2 separate regions of the Homo sapiens genome follow, and region 1 is linked to region 2. The links are contacts of gene promoters, found by promoter capture Hi-C in human tissues and cell types (Jung and others, 2019). All regions are on one chromosome and are shown on one strand. The core of a region is centred on a gene start or on the middle of the fragment in contact, and the rest is flanking DNA. Distances in the headings are between cores, read along the strand shown.

Region 1 (4,917 bases), core at 460-2,959, 150 kb after region 2:
ACTTTCCCTAGGTTACAGAACAGTAGGGGCCTCAAGTCCATGTTCCATCTACTACACCAACATGTCTCTCAAATGTCAGTTACCAGAGAAGCCAGAGAATGGAACATGAAAATTGTTTGCATGTCCATGAAAGCCTGAACCACCCTTCCCACCCAAAGTTTTCAGTTTCTAGAAAAAATCTACAACAGAATTTTTTAATCTACAGGGAATTTTAAGTGCTCATTTAGAAAAGAAAAATGCATAATACACCAATCCGACAGGATTTACCATCACTCCTCCCTCTGCCTGGGTCATATGGAACCAAGGATACTCTTTTATAGTGTTTTGCTGAAGCTCAGGCTGTCTTGTCCCTGGTAAAGTTGTCCTCTTCCCCTTGTCTCAGATCTTCAGAGGGCCTCCAGGCCCTGTTGCACAACCTTCTTCTCTGTGAGGCCGGTGACCATCTGCTCACCATCCTTCGAACCAAAGCCCATTCATGCACAGCCATTTGGGCCACTGGAATGTTGACACCCAGTCTTTTCCTCTTCAAACTCAGTTGCAATGTATTTTTAGTTGCGTGGATCATATTTTTCAACACTTGAGTCATTTTTGTGTCTCTGCTTATTTTCCTCCTATTTCTCCATGTTGTGTAATATTCCTTTGAGTTATCTTTTCCCAAGGAACTCAAAGAACTTGATGATTCAGCCCTCCACCCACACACCGCGTGAGGCAGGAGACTCTCCCCCTTGCTTTTCTGAGGTACAAAACTGGCTCAGGTACAGCTCTATTTTTCCAGCTGTCAAGCAGCAGCTGACCAGATTTTTTTCTATGCACTAAAAATTGACACGCAGCGAAGTGTGCTGTGGTGTGGCAGGGTGAATACAGGGTCTCAGAAGACCACAAAGGCAAAACAGAATCATGGATCTCACAGAGTAGCAAAGACCCTATGCAGAGAAACAAACTTAACAATTTTCATATGTCCAGGGTCCAAGCTAGCTGCTAGAAATAAATGGAATAAAGCCTAATCCCTGCCCATCAGGAAGGAAATGACACAATGAATCAGCATTTATTCACTCAGTGAGTCAGTAAACACTTAATAAGCAATTATTATTGTGCCAGATATTAGTGTAGGCCCTAGGAGTATATCAGTGAACAACAGAGACAAAATCCTTGAATATTACTGGATAATAGTAGATAATTATAGGGCTCTGGAGTCAGGCCTCATGGGTTCAAATACTTGCTGTGTAATACTGAGAAGAGTATGTACCCCTCTGCACCTCAATTTCCTCATCTACAAAGCAGGGATGATAAAGGTACCTACTGCATGGGGCTGTTATGAGGACTAAATGAACTATTACAAGTAAAGAGCTTACCTGAATGTCCAGCACCTAGCACGGGGTCCATGAATCTTAGCAATTATTACATTAGATAATTGCATTACAGAGTGATGAGTGCTTTGTTAAAAAGCAGTGAGGCACAAGTCTGTTTGAGAGCACAGAAGCCATGCACCTTGCTAGGGCAGTGGGTGGGCAAAGCTTCTTGGATGAGATGGCACTGGAGTTGCGATCATTGACTAGGACCTTAGCCAAATGAAAAACAAAGGGAATGAACTCCAGGTGGAGGAAACGTTATGTTTGAAGTTTCAAAAGCAAAAGAGAGAGCAAAACAGAGATTGCATTTCAATTCTTAGAAATGAATGCATGTAGCTTAGTGTGTAGGTGGCGGGATGTTGGGGAGGAGCCATGAGAAGGAAGGCTAAGCAGAGACCAGAACAGGATAAGGGATTTGGATTTGATCCTGCAGCAGGGGAAGCCACTAGTTTTAAGCAGGAAAGTAATAAACGCTGCCATGGAAAGAAATGACAAAAGGAGAGGCCAGTTAGATGGGCTGGGCGATGACCTGGTCTGGAAGAAAGGAAGGCCTGAGCAAAGGTGGAAGAGAGACCATAGAGAGATGTGGACAATGAAACGGGAGATTAGAGAGGTCTGTGTGTGGGATAAGGAGTGAGCAGGTATCAAGGAGGACTCCTGGGTTTCCGGCTTGGGCCATGTGGTGGCGATACTCTCATGGAGGGAGAGCATGATGCAGAAGGACCTAATTTGGTGACTAGTGGGTAGGGGAGTAGTGTTGGTAATTATTAACCCTCTCTGGCTAATTTAGATTTAATAGGCCTATGAGTCATCCAGGTGGGGACCTTCCGGAGGCTCAGACTCCAGAAGAGAGATCCCAGCTAGAGAAATACAAGCAGAAACCATCAGCATAGAGATACATTTGAAGGCTTGGGAGTAACTGAGATGACTCAGTTCTTATCTCATTAAATCTCTGCAACTCTGGGAAGAAGGTTTTTAAAAAACAGCCAAGGGCACATAATAAAGGTTTTTAAAAAACAGCCAAGGGCATATAATTGGATTGCAGACCCAGGCTTGTCTAACCGTAAAGTCTTCGCTCCTTTGTCTTCTCCCTACGGCCTTGCAGGTGGCCTGGTGAATGGCTGCAAGAAGCAGCTGTCTCCATGTTGCCAGCTTTGGCACATGGCTGAGTTTACTCTATCCCAGAGCTGGTGTAGTTTCTAGAAATACAAACAATAGAGCATGGCTGCCACACTCAAAGCGAGGTCAGAGAGACAGAAGCTTAACAGATTGTTTTAATAAAATATGCTCAAGGCAGTGAAGGAGATGGGAGCAGGGCACACGTTTGGGAAAACTTTTGAGAATCGGGAAGGGCTTCTCAGCCTCAAAAGTCCTGATAAAATGCATATGTCAATCCTATCAACCTCCATCAAGTCTGTATATCAGAATAGACGAAGGTTTTCTTTCTTAATAAATTTTATGTATATAAAAGGTATACAATATATTATGAGATACATACATATAGTGAAATGGTTACTCTAGCAGAACAAATTAACATATCCTTTCATCTTACATAGTTACCAGTCCCCATCATGGCAAAAGCAGCTATATTTAATCCTTCAGCAAAAATCCTGAATGCAATACACCAGTATTAACTAGCGGCCTCAGGTTGTATATTAAATCTTTCAACTTGTTCACCCTACATTTGCTACTTTATGTCCTTTGACCTGCATCTCCCTATTTTCTCCCCATCCCCAAACCTGGTCACCACTGTTTTAGTCTCTATCTCTATATATTGCATGCTGTCACTTATATATGGAATCTTAAAAAAATGAAATAGGTTAGAATAGATGAAATTTGATAGCAGAGAAAGGGAGGAAGAGGTTGGGCCTTTGGAGGGGGACTGTTTGGAAGGAAATACTACAGAAGGGGATTCTTGGCATAGAAGAGACATTGAAAAAGAGGTGACAAGGCCTAGGAGGGAAACAGGGCACTTACAGCATGGAGCCAGGAGGACCACTACACTCTGAACATCAGATCCATAGCCCAGTGGATTAGCCTCCAGGAATTCTAATCTCCTCCCTCAGCTTCCTCTGGAAAATGCTTACATGGGGTTGGGGTTGGGGGCAGTAAAGCCTAATTATCTCAGACTTAGTCTTGTGTTGTTTGGCTAGAAAGCTCAGGTGGATTAACAACTGTAAACTGGTTTGTAAACTGTAATCCTGGAGATGTTCCTTATTTGTTCAAATTGATATTCCCAGGACATTTCCTGGTTTAGTAACTTCTCAATAAGTATGAGTCATCCTTCAGCTTCTCCTGAGATCACTTTTAGTGTATCTGCCAACATACTAATGCTAATACTCCGGTGGATATATCAGAGAGTCTTAAATATAAATATACAAATATTTCTAATGAAATCCTCAAAAAGTAGACATTGGAGCATGGGTGTTTTTTCTGGTCCCCATCAAAGTAAAAGCTTTCAACCAGCTCAGTAACAGGGTTTTTATGTGTAGGATTTCTTTTGAAAGACATTGGCTAGGTCTTTTACCATCTTCCTGCATTTCCGAGCATCTTTGACTATTATGGCTACTGTAGTCAAATAGCAGAGACACATCATCTGAATTATTAAAATAGTGTGGCTGAAAAAGGTGAGATAAATAATGGTAACACAGCTGTAGGGGTGGTTGAAAACAACAGAGACCGATGAATGAGACATGTTTGTTGCCAAAACACCGGAGTGGAACAATTATTATCAATGGTGTCTTAAATGTGTAAGATCGTCCATGGCTGCATCCCCATTTCGCATTGTGGAAATAAATGAAAACCACCCAAATGAGAACAAACAGGATTATTTTTTCAAGGTTTACTGTAGCAAGGGAGTCAGTCACCATCACTTAGCAGAGATTCGAAGGCAGGAAGGGCAGGGGGAAAGATTTATAGAGAAAACAGGAAAGGCTTCAGGTGTGCTCTGATCAAAGCCTGTTGGCATAAGAAACAGGAGGTAGGCTAATTAAAAGCAGGACATCTGACGAGATTGGTGTGGGGAGGATAGAAATCTTTTTCTGGTCCTGAGTTAGAAGCAAAGTTTACAATCCTGACTATTCTGGGCTGATTGCAGCAGAGGTTGTGGGGCAGAGTCCAATTGTCAGGTACAGTCTGGTCACTGACTGTTTGCATATTCAGTCTCTCAGCATTAAGATTTCAGAGATGAGACTGGGTATGGTGGCTCATGCCTGTAATCCCAGCACTTTGGGAGGCCAGGGCAGGCAGATCACTTAAGGTCAAGAATTCGAGACCAGCCTGGTCAACATGGTGAAACCCTATCTGTACTAAATATACAAAAACTAGCTGGGTGTGGTGGCAGATGCCTGTAATCCCAGCTACTCGGGAAGCTGAGGCAAAGAATCACTTGAACCTGAGAGGTGGAGATTGCAGTCAGCCAAGATCACACCACTGCACTCCAGCCTAGGCAACAGAGTGAGACTCCGTCTCAAAAAAAAAAAAAAAAAAAAAGATTTCAGAGATGAGCTTTCCCAGAATGAACTCGGTATTTCTATCATGTGCTGGAAGCAGCACTCTAAAAGAGCAG
Region 2 (5,325 bases), core at 1,793-4,292:
GGCTTATGTTTACTGCACTTGTATCCTTATTCCCCTTGTAACTTGTCCTTAAATAATTTGTCATGGCTTTTGGTTAATAAACACATCTCTCTTTCATCTCCCCACCATAAAATAAAAAGATAACATCCTTATGCTCTCAGCATGGTCTTACCTTCAGACTCTAGAAATACATAGCTGGATGTGTTTTCTGGGAAAACATATAAATTAAAATCATTTTTGGCAGGTAAACATTGGCTACTAATAAATAGTTCTAGTAAGCTCTCCTCCTTATAACCTAAGGATTTATGTTATAGCTCACTTATCCAGTGGGCTTACCAGAATGCAGTCATATTCCAAAGTCAGCCTTACAAGGTCCCTCTCTGGAAAGAACTCAGTTGATGAGCCTCTACTCTCCTAATTGCTGCCCTTACATTTTTACATGACAAATCATCATCCTTTCTGGTTTTGCAGCATTTTAATAGACCCAGAGTTGCTTTCTGAGAAAAGTCTCAGTACTAACAAAGGTTAGAACTAACAAAGGTTGAACTAAGGATGACATGCATGTGGTATGTGCCCTTTCCAGTCCTCTTCCCAGGTCCATGAAGAAATCACCAACCAGTGAGAACACTCTTTCTACAGAACACAAACTCAGCTTCAGGCTATTTCTGAACAAGAGCTTTAGGAAGCAAAAGGAAACAAGTATGTAAGAACATTAAGAACATACCTGCCATACTTATACTAGAATGTAAGTTCCTTAAGGGCACAGACTGTGTCTGATTCATTTTTGTTTTCTCAACAAAAATGTTGATGGGGTGTTAACTAATTGTATAAAGTAGGAATAAGAGTCAGTTTCGTAAATGTTTTTTAAAAGTTGACAAAAGTATTTTCATTTTGATTCCAAAATTAAAAAAAGCTAATAAAGATATTACAATATTTTAAAAATCCAAATTTTATGAGAGTTCTTGTCTGGATGAAAATTAGAATACATTCACATTATCTCAAACGAATGAACATGTGTGACTTTATAAAAACAATACCTCCCTAAACCATGAATTCAGATGGAAAAACTCGACATCTTTATTTCTGCAGTCAGTCTCATTTTTCTTAAAACAGTTCAAACTAGTAAGAATTTTCCAGAAGTTACAGCTTGACTCACCCAACCTTCCAAGGAAAAAACAAAAAAACTTAAACAGACATTGTTTCACTCTCATCATTTCCCACCCTTACTAATAGTGGCAACTTAAGTGTATCTTAAAGCACTCCAACCTCTTCATAGAGCCTATTAAATGAGTATCTTGTGGACACCCACACACAGTCATAGAATCCTAAGTGGTGCTCAGACCAGTCACATGTCAGTGCATTCTTAATTGCTAGAGCTAACATGCTCTCAGCATGGTCTTTTAATTACACCCTAATAATTTATTATAGTTTCTCTCTACAATGTAAAGTCTTGGAAATCACCCACTAAAAAGTGCCTGTGTACTCTGGGGCTTTGGCAGGCTAGGGCAGAACTTCTGAGAACACGGTGTGTTCCAGAGAAGACAATCAATCTGAGAGGACTTACACAGAAACAGTTCATTCAGGACCTGGCTGCTGGCTTTTATCTGAGATCTGAGGATTTCACAATCACTTGGAGATACCTACAAGTGTATAGCACACCTTGGATATTACTCTTAATGATTACTTCATTTTGTAAAGAGGTGACTCCACCAACAGCAAAGGAGAGGGCCCAGCCCCAGCCACCAGGAATACAGTTCTCTGCCAGTAAGTGCCTAATGACTCATTTTCCTCAACAGAATTTTCATAAGGCTGGAATTCAGGGAGGGATGTCTGGAGAATGTCTGAAAGGAAGTTCACAAGCCACTGTCCTGCTCTTTGCTGGAGAAAGTGTCCCGTGGTAGCCAGAGAAGTTGACTAAGGCAAACAGCAACATGTTTTGGTAACATTTCCCCATTACCTTTCATGTACAATCCAAGAAAGGTTGCCATGAAGTGTTTTAATCAGGTTGGGAACATTATAAACTTCGAAAAAAGAAAACCATTAGTGGAAAAATTAAGGACACAGTAGATTTAACAACTGTGTTTACGTGGAACCACAAAATCTATCCAAGTGAATTGCATTAAAACAGACAGAACACTCCAAGAAACTGTTGTATGTGTATTTTTTTTAATTCAGTCAACCATTTTACTAATCTGTCAAGATGACCAATTTCTTTGGAATTATGTAGATTTAGCCAAAATGAAATTATACATAAGATTTACTTTTCTTTTCAGATGCTTTTTTATTTATTTTTAAATCTTTATAATTACTAGATGTTCTCCTCTCTCAGAAGATATTCTGAGAGGAAAGCAAAAATACCACTCTTGTAAAGCCATTTCCATTCTTCCAAAGGTCTGCTGGTAAATTATTCTTACTGATCTTTCCATCTTTCTAGCCTGTGCATACACACCTAACCCATACTAAATTTCACCAGATGGCATTTTATTTCTTTAAAGTAAAGCAGCCGTGGGTTTAGACAGTTGAATTTTTAAACTTCTGTATTTACTGAAAGTGCATATGGTGCTATATGGACAAAGAAATTGTGCTGAAAGAAAAACATTTCTGTCTGCAATACCTCATAATCTTCCAGAGGAAAAAAAAGTGCAGTTATATGGCACATTTCTCACAAAATCTTATGTGGCTTCAATGTTCTTCCTCTGTTAAAAAGTAGATATATGTTTAATGTACAGACCTGCAAGTTTCATTATTTTAAATTCATCTTTTAGTGGCAAATAAAAATGTTATGCAAAACCCAATGACTTGCTAAAGTGATCCTTCAGTGAATTCTAGAAGAAAATGCAACATAAACCTGAACTGGTAAAAAAGAAAAAATAAAAACCTCTGTATGTCAACGTAAGCAGATGTTGGTGTAGTTACAAGGATGAGAAGGCTATAAAACTTCCCTTGAGTCACTCACAGTTCATTTGAGGGCCAAGAACGCCCCCAAAATCTGTTTCTAATTTTACAGAAATCTTTTGAAACTTGGCACGGTATTCAAAAGTCCGTGGAAAGAAAAAAACCTTGTCCTGGCTTCAGCTTCCAACTACAAAGACAGACTTGGTCCTTTTCAACGGTTTTCACAGATCCAGTGACCCACGCTCTGAAGACAGAATTAGCTAACTTTCAAAAACATCTGGAAAAATGAAGGTTAGTATAAGCAACCTCAAGTATTCTTAAAAAATTAGGGTTGGCTGGATTGAACGTGATCAGAGTTTTCTATTGTTTAGAAGGTGAAGATTTGTACATAAGTATTTACTTCCTCAATGGGTTGGGATTGGAAAATTGTTCTAAATATACTGTAGAAACATTTGTCCTTGCAGAGCTGGAAGAATTCCAGCAATTATAGCCGGATCAGTGGAAAACAATCAAAAGCTTTGTGGGGCGAGAGAAAAAGGATTTAGGTGTAAACAAAATCTTGCCATTTCTACTATTTAGCAGGAACTGTGTGTATGCCTAATTCTCTTTATTTTATGTAGACTTGGGTAAAAATCGTATTTGGAGTTGCCACCTCTGCTGTGCTTGCCTTATTGGTGATGTGCATTGTCTTACGCCCTTCAAGAGGTAAGAACTTTCTCTGATTTGCTCTATCTGCCTAGAATAGCTTGGAAAATGTACTAATGCAAGATCACAAGTGGTTGAACATTTCCTAAGTGCTTATGTTCCAAAGTAAGTCTGTTATTTCTAAGAAGACATATAAGCTCACAGATATGTTGTTGTGCAAGACCAGAAATACTGAGGAATTTAAGGCATGGGTAGGAAGAGATTTACAGTGTTATTTCAGCAATAGAAAAACCTAAGAACTATGCTGCATCACCCCCACAACCCCCAAAAATATATGCTAAATACAAGCTTTGACAGGCCTTTAGAAACAACATTTTTAACTAACATTGCTTTTCATTATTAGGTTTGTCTCGTGGAAAGTAAAAATGAGTAAGAATGGAAAAGTTAAAACAGAATCTATGGACTTTTTTTATTACTAAATAGTCTTTCCAAAAATTTAGGGAGGAAGTTGAGAATACAGATCTCAGGAATAGCTGTATAGAAAAAGCAAAGTTGTTGTTTTAGATGTAGTAGCACTGCACATCAAATTAGAAAACCAAACATTGTTAAGCAAGCATTTTGATCAGTCATAAATTGGATCCTTTTACAAAAAAGGCTTAGATTGACACTGATCTCACTTTGCTAAAAATTGGAAGGTACTATGGGCTGATATCAGAGCTAGTTTAAATATAAAGTAGGACTATGTTGATAGATAATCTAGTGATATTAGGGAAATAGCTTTTTATGAAAATATTTATGAAGAGAAACTCAAGCTTCTGAAATGGAAAAAAAATCCAGTAATAACAGGTCTTATGTCTTTGTGTCTAGGAAAGGGGAAAAATTTGTACTAATAAATACTAAAAGTTTATGATAACAAATGTGGGAAATATCTTGGTTAAAAGTTAACTGATAGTAAATGAAGATCAATAAAATAACTTCAGCTAAAGAATGTATGAGTCCTGAATGACTGGACTGTTGCTATTAAAAAGAACATAGAAAAATGTTTTCGAAAATTAAAAATAATCATGAGATTTTCACAGAATTACAAAATAGAATAGGTTAACCCATAAGATGAAGTCAGCTGATATCTTCAGTGTTAATTTCAGTCTTTGTTTCTGCTCTCTGCCAGCACAAGATTCTTCTTAGGCTGTTGAGAGGTATGTAGTGTGTGTACATATCTTTCATAAATTTTCATGTTAAAATTGTTTTCAGACTCATCTCTGAACTCAGTGGTCTTGGGGCCACATTTCCCTCATACCAGCAATTGTCAGGTAGTGGATTAGGTCATATAGATCCTTTGAATGTTAATTCATTAAAAATTAGCTCCTGATTTTTAAAGAAACTCAACCTTGAAATTGATACTCTGCACCCTCAGAAATAAATGTTCTTGGAACAAAAGTTTGTTAATTTTATAGGGCACTTGCCTCCATGTCCATAGGGAAGGATGAATTTCACTATGGAATTCAAGCTATAATTTCTAATAAGAAATGCATTATATTTACATATTTACAAATGATGTATAGAGATACACATACACAGATATTTGTGTGATCACATATAATCTCAATCCCTACCCTCTTTCCAAGTTTAGTTATGTATAGCTTACATATAAATATACGTCGTAAACTATATATAGTATAAAAGTCCTATGTAATTTATAATACAATTCTATTTTCAACTAACAGGAAAATTCTAAGAATAAAGTGATTTCTTGATAGGGTGAAATAATCAAATTAAACTCAAGTACTCAGTGAAATTTGAGTACTC

Evidence for each region. The method cuts DNA at HindIII sites, captures the fragments that hold promoters and counts their contacts. A contact is called where the count stands out against the background at its distance.
Region 1: a fragment that was not itself captured here is called in contact with the fragment with the promoter of FAP in region 2 in 1 of the 25 tissues and cell types used here (IMR-90 fibroblasts).

The regions. Positions count from the first base shown.
Region 1 is chr2:162,088,987-162,093,903 of GRCh38, reverse strand. It overlaps the pseudogene EIF3EP2. Among named protein-coding and RNA genes, the nearest start is that of DPP4-DT, 17 kb to the right of the region's middle. RefSeq lists an enhancer at 1-1,180. The HindIII fragment of the contact is 6,107 bases long and covers 1-4,762 here.
Region 2 is chr2:162,241,162-162,246,486 of GRCh38, reverse strand. It overlaps FAP (fibroblast activation protein alpha), which reads left to right and starts at 3,042. Exons shown (of 26, transcript NM_004460.5): 1 at 3,042-3,165; 2 at 3,495-3,579. The coding sequence starts at 3,160. It overlaps LOC105373724 (a long non-coding RNA gene), which reads right to left and starts at 370. Exons shown (of 4, transcript XR_923544.3): 1 at 316-370. The HindIII fragment of the contact is 19,367 bases long and covers 1-3,629 here.